Regions from separate parts of the Homo sapiens genome. Here region 2 is linked to region 1. The links are contacts of gene promoters, found by promoter capture Hi-C in human tissues and cell types (Jung and others, 2019). All regions are on one chromosome and are shown on one strand. The core of a region is centred on a gene start or on the middle of the fragment in contact, and the rest is flanking DNA. Distances in the headings are between cores, read along the strand shown.

The links. The method cuts DNA at HindIII sites, captures the fragments that hold promoters and counts their contacts. A contact is called where the count stands out against the background at its distance.
Region 2: a contact is called between a fragment that was not itself captured here and the fragment with the promoter of MYO5C in region 1, in 1 of the 25 tissues and cell types used here (pancreas).

Annotation. Positions count from the first base shown.
Region 1 is chr15:52,294,447-52,297,554 of GRCh38, reverse strand. It overlaps MYO5C (myosin VC), which reads left to right and starts at 1,751. Exons shown (of 41, transcript NM_018728.4): 1 at 1,751-1,945. The coding sequence starts at 1,919. It overlaps LOC105370819 (a long non-coding RNA gene), which reads right to left and starts at 2,671. Exons shown (of 4, transcript XR_932250.3): 1 at 2,344-2,671. RefSeq lists a silencer at 1,928-2,087. The HindIII fragment of the contact is 3,447 bases long and covers 1-3,105 here.
Region 2 is chr15:52,488,646-52,491,880 of GRCh38, reverse strand. The region is part of intron 1 of MYO5A (myosin VA); the gene reads left to right. Among named protein-coding and RNA genes, the nearest start is that of MYO5A, 39 kb to the left of the region's middle. The HindIII fragment of the contact is 5,770 bases long and covers 1-3,235 here.

The sequences.
Region 1 (3,108 bases), core at 502-3,001:
TTTTATTTATTCCCCTATTGATATTTAGATGCTTCCAACTCTTTGATAAATAACTATGTTGTGATGAACATCTACTTAACTGTCTCTTTGGGTGACTGTGAGAATTTTTCTGCCTACATTTATTTTCATAACTATTCTCAAATTGCTCTCCAGGATGGCAGTATATTCCCACCAGTTATGTAAGCAAAAAAAGTTTTTATTTTTTTTATTTATTTTTTTTTTTTTTTTGAGACGGAGTCTCGCTCTGTCGCCCAGGCTGGAGTGCAGTGGCGCAATCTCGGCTCACTGCAGGCTCCGCCCCCTGGGGTTCACGCCATTCTCCTGCCTCAGCCTCCCGAGTAGCTGGGACTACAGGCGCCCGCCACCTCGCCCGGCTAATTTTTTGTATTTTTAGTAGAGACGGGGTTTCACCGTGTTAGCCAGGATGGTCTCGATCTCCTGACCTCGTGATCCGCCCGCCTCGGCCTCCCAAAGTGCTGGGATTACAGGCGTGAGCCACCGCGCCCGGCCAAGTTTTTATTTTCTCACATCCTAGGCAGTATCTGAGATTGTCTAACCTAAATGTTTTTGCCAATATGATGGGTAAAAAGCAATATCTCATTGTTGTTTTCATTTGTATTTATCTGATTACTGCTAAAGTTGACATCTCCTTGTATGCTAACAAGCCATTTAAGTGTCCCCATCTGTGAATTGCCTATTAATTTTTGTCAGTTTTAAAAATTGGATTTCTTTTCTTTAACCGATTAACAATTCTTCTATATGGAAACTACTATAACCCAACATTTTAAAGATATTATCCCTCTTTTATTCCTAATAATTTCCCGGTTTTAAGTTTTAATCGTGAATCCATCTGGAGCTTATTTTTGGATGCAGTGTTTGCCACGGATCTGCTTTTATTGTTTTTCCATATAACGGGCCCATCTAATAAATATTATTTTATTTCCCTATCTGGTCCTTAAGGCTACCGTATAATGTAGGGCCCTGCTGGGGGGCTCCAGCATGTTCCATTACTCACGTATCCGTTCTCACGCAAGTGTCACACTGTTTTAATGACTACTGCTTTGTTATGTCCCTAAATATATGGCAGGACAAATCTCTCCTCTTTGAGAATTGTCTTAGTTATACAGGGCTTTTATTCTATATGAAATATAGAATCATTGTACAATTCTCCAAAAGTTCTGTAGGATTCTGACGCCAATATATTAGGCATATATATTGATTTGGGTAGAAGTGACACCTTGACCATATTAAATATTCCCAGCCAGGAAAATGGCATGTCTCCCGTTTACCTGGGCCTTCTTTTAAGCTCTTTAAGAGAATTTTAAACATTTTCTCCACAAAGGCCAAGGGCATTTTTGCGAGTGTAATCTCTGGATACTTTATATTTTCACTAATATTGTAAATATCTTGTATTGCATAGACAATGCTCATATAAAGGACCATTACTTATTTTTGTATTTGATTTTGAATACGATGACCTTGCTGGACTCTTAACACATTTCTTTGTGTTCAGTACGTTGATTCCCTTGGGTCTTCCATTTAAATGGTCGTATCCTCTGCTCTTTGAGGAGCTAACACTCGGGCCGGGCAGCCTCCGGATGCATCTGTTCCTGCCTGGCAGCGCGCCCCGGGCCCCAACCTTCTCCACCCGCGCTCCCGCCAGGTGCAGCCGCCCGGCCCCGGCCAATGGCAGCGCCGACTAGCCGGGCCAAGCTTGGAGGGACCAATCCCGCCGCTGCCCCCTCCCCTCGCCGCCAACTCGGGAACGGGAACAGGAGGCCGTTGGAAAACTTTGGGCAAGATGGCCCGGCGGTGATTTCCGCGGCGGTCTCTCCTGCGCCCGGCCTCTGCGGCGCAGGCCCAGCCCCCGAGCCTCGCACGTTCGGCAGCCCCGGCCTGGCCCCGGCCCCTCCTGCCCATGGCGGTGGCCGAGCTGTACACGCAGGTAGGAGGGTCCGCTGGGCTCCTGGGAGCGCTGTGGGGGAGCCGGCCCTGCTAACGCTGACTCGACCTGGCGCCCGGGCCACACCTGCCACACCTGCGCACCTGACACGGCAGGGCGGGCGGGCGCGCGCTGGGGGCCGCGGAGGCGCCGCGGAGGGGCCACGGGGACCGGGGACACGAGCGAGCGTCGCCCCTCCAGGGCCCCGGCGTGCTCCGTCCCTGCCCGCGGGTAAGCCCCCTCCTGGCTCCGCTGCGCCTGGGTGCCCTGTGGGTGGGAAGACCCTGTGGGAGGGGCCGCCCCCTCCGCCGCTCCGGCCTCGGGGCCTAGAATCCCCAGTGCCCAGGGGTCGCGCGTGCGTCCCCATCTCCCGGGACTGGAGCGCCTCGGTCCCTTCCTACCACACCACGGGTGGAATCAGAGTTGCCCATGCGGACGTAGGAAGCTGAGACGCCGGCCAGTCTCCTGGCCCCTCCTGGGACCCCCTTGAACGAGCTGGCATAGAAGCTTATGGCCGCAGTGTTCGGGCTGCTTTCTAGAATTCTGTGTCTTCAAAGTGCGTGAACGTGCATGTAGGCTCATCAGAAGCTGAAGCAGCCTGGGTCACAGGCTTGAGGGCACTGCAGTGGCACCAAGCGCTTGGGGAGCCCAGGGGCCACGAGGTGCAGTCGTAGGCTCTTTGCCTAACATCTGTACTGTTAGCAACAGTACAAACACCACAGTTTCTAAAGCGCCTTTCATATACCCTGACTCTGGGAAACACTAGAGCATTCCTCAGAAGCTTCCTTTCTGCTGGCTGGGGCTCCACCTCTTACCTCGGAAGGGCAGCGTTCCCACATATGTCCCAAACCCTCTGAGATGGGCTTGGGTAATTATTTGGATAAAGAGTGTGACAGTGTTAGCACTTTTGAAAAAAAAAATCCATTTGAATAGCCATAAAGCCTGATCCTCCTATACACCAGTTGGGGAAATCTAGAGACCTCAGTATTCAGACGAGTGGAACTAGAATCCATCCATTTCCCCGGACACATGCTCTAGCTTTCTACTTTAAAAGATGCTTTTGCTGTAGATAGAAAAGATAGTTATTTAAAAAATCATGTTTCAATGGTTTAAGCAAACGTTTTTCTTCTACTTTGATTACTTAGTAACAGTCCGGACACAAAGCA
Region 2 (3,235 bases), core at 233-2,732, 190 kb before region 1:
GATCATTTTTCCTGCATAGTTTCCCGCAGTCCAGTTTTTGCTAATTATGTTGCCATGGTGTAGTTCAATGTGTTGCTTTGTAAATTAGTAGTTGGATCTAGATGCTTCGTGTATGAGTTTTTGAAAGCCCAATGCCTTCATATATCCTGAGGATATGCCTTAATTTCCGTTTGATTAATGTTTGCCAAGAACATTGATGTACTTGGATAAAAGGGGATTAAACAGTAAATATCTTTGTTTTTGTTAGCATGAGACAGATCTTCTGACACTTGGAGCCTGACTCATGTTACTTTAGAGAATCCAATAAAAAATACATGGCTTAGTGTTCATTACTTGCTTTTCAGGAGGTAACCCTGGCGGGGATCTCTGAGCAAAAGCTGGCTTTAATTATCTAGAGTTGGTACAGTGTCATTGTGACTAGATATTATGATGTAGGTGGAAATGTGGGGTTTTCTTATTTTTTAAAGACTCTATAAAAACAAAATATTAATAGAAAACATCAGAACCCTACTAAAAATTGTAGACCCCCACATGCATTAATTTTCTATGCAATGAAATCCTTCAGTACCTTAGTAATGAAGTTCTAATTAATGAGTTACTTAAGTCCCTCTTAATTCAACTTGGTAGGAATAATCCAACAGCCAAGGCCCAATGTAGTTATCATCGTAGGTCATCTTTGGAGATGTGCCTTTTTTGAAACAGCTGGATGGTTGGGCGTTTAATAAATATTTAGAATGTAAATGTATACTTAAATTTAAAAAAATTAAATTGTAAAATACACATAACGTAAGTTAACCATCTTAACCATGTGTAAGTGTACAGGTCAGTAATGTTAAGTACATTCATATTGTTGTACAACCAGGCCAGGCATGGTGCTCACACCTATAATCCCAGCACTTTGAGAGGCTGGGGCAGGAGGATCCCTTGAGCGCAGGAGTTCAAGACCAGCTTAGGTAACATAGTGAGACCCCGTCTATACAAAAAATAAAAAAATTAGCTGGATGTGGTGGCTGCACCTCTAGTTATAGCTACTTGGGAGGCTGAGGTGGGAGGATTGCTTGAGCCCAGGAGTTTGAGGTTGCAGTGAGCTGTGATCATCACACCACTGCACTCCAGCCTCGGCAACAGAATGAGACCCTGTCTCAAACAACAACAACAACAACAACATATTGTTGTACAACCAATCTCTAAAACTCTTCATCTTGCAAAACTATATCCCTGTACCCATTAAACAATAACTCCCTATTCCCCACTCCCTCTAGTCCCTGGCAACCATTATTCTACTTTCTCTCCCTATGAATCTGACTACTCTAGGTACCCTATATAAGTGGAATCATATAGTATTTGTCTTTTCATGACTGGCTTATTTCATATGGCGTAATGTCCTCAAGGTTCATCCATGTCGTGACATCTTTCAGAATTTCCTCAAGGTTCATCCATGTCGTGACATCTTTCAGAATTTCCTTCTCTTTTGAGGCCAAATAATATTCTTTTGAGTAAATACACCACATTTTTGTTTAATCTATTCATCCATTGATGGACATGGGTTGCTTCCATCCTTTGGCTATTGTGAAGAATGCTGCTGTGAACATGGGTGTACAAGCATCTCTTTGAGACCTTGCTTTCAAATCTTTTGGATATATAACCAGAAGTGGGATTCCTCGGTTATATAGGAATTATATATTTAATTTTTTGAGGAACCACCATACTGTTTTCCGTACTGGCTGCACCATTTTACATTACCAGGGTGCAGAGGTTCTAATTTCTCCAGGGCACAATCGTTCTAATTTCTCCACATCCTGTCCAACTCTTGTTATTTTCTAGTTTTTTGATAGTAGGTATTCTAATAGGAGTGAAATGGTATCTCATTGTAGGCTTGATTTGCATTTCCCTAATGATTAATGATGTTCAGCATCTTTTCATGTGCCTATTGGCCATTTGTGTATCTTGTTTGGAGAAACGTCTATTCAAAGTCTTTGCTCATTTTAAAATCAGGTTGTTCATCATTGTTGCTGTTCAGCTGTAGAATTCTTTTATTTTTGTTTTAAATTTACTTAGAGACAGGTCTCACTATGTTGCCTAGGCTAGTCTTGAACTCCTGGGCTCAAGCAGTCCTCCTGCCTTGGCCTCCCAAAGTGCTGAGGTTACAGGTGTGAGCCACCATGCACAGCTGAGTTGTAGAATTCTTTATATATTCTGGGTATGAATCTTTTATCAGATATATGATTTGCAAATATTTCCTTTCATTATGTGGGTTTCCTTTTCACTCTGTTGATTGTGCCCTTTGATGCACAGAGGTTGGTTTTTTTTTTTTTTTTTAGACAAAGTCTTGCTCTGTCACCAGGCTGGAGTGCCCTGGCACGATCTTGGCTCACTGCAACCTCTGCCTCCTGGGTTCAAGCAGTTCTCCTGCCTCCGCCTCCCGAGTAGCTGGGACTACAGGTGCGTGCCACCACGCCCGGCTAATTTTTTGTATTTTTAGTAGAGACGGGGTTTCACTGTGTTAATCAGGATGGTCTTGATCTCCTGACCTCGTGATCCGCCCGCCCCGGCCTCCCAAAGTGCTGGGATTACAGGCATGAGCCACCGCGCCCAGCCGATGCAGAGAGGTTTTAAATTTATTTACCTTTTTCTTTTATTGCCTGTGCTCCTGGTGTCAGCTCCAAGAAATCAGTGCCAAATTCAGTATCATGAAGTTTTCCTCCTGTATTTTCTTCTAAGAGTCTTACAGTTTTAGCTCTTAACATTTAGGTCTTTGGTCCATTTTGAGTTAATTTTTCTATGTGGTATAAGGAAGGTTTATCTTCATTCTCTGCAGTTTTACTTTTACACTTTGGTCTAATGGTGCATGTACACGCCATGTAGAAGATAAGTTAAGGTTCTAAATTTAGTTATGCTATTGACAACTGCTTGCTGTGGAAATCTTGCTATAATGCCTCCTCCCATGGGCAGTTGTTACTGATTTATCTCATCTTTCCCCAGAGAGTTTTGCGTTTTAAGAAAGAGAAATTGTTAAATATTATTTGTTATTAAGTGTCATTTATACTTTTTAGTTTAGCTTTTTAAACTTTTTATTTTGAAAAGTTTTTGAAACATTCACAAAGTAAGGAGAAGAGTAAAACAAATCCCCCCAAGCCCGCAGCTTCAACAAATAACAGCCTTCTGCACATTTGCTTCATTTCTTCTTTTTCCCAACATTTTCTTCTTCTGAAAGATTTTAAGGCAAATCACAACC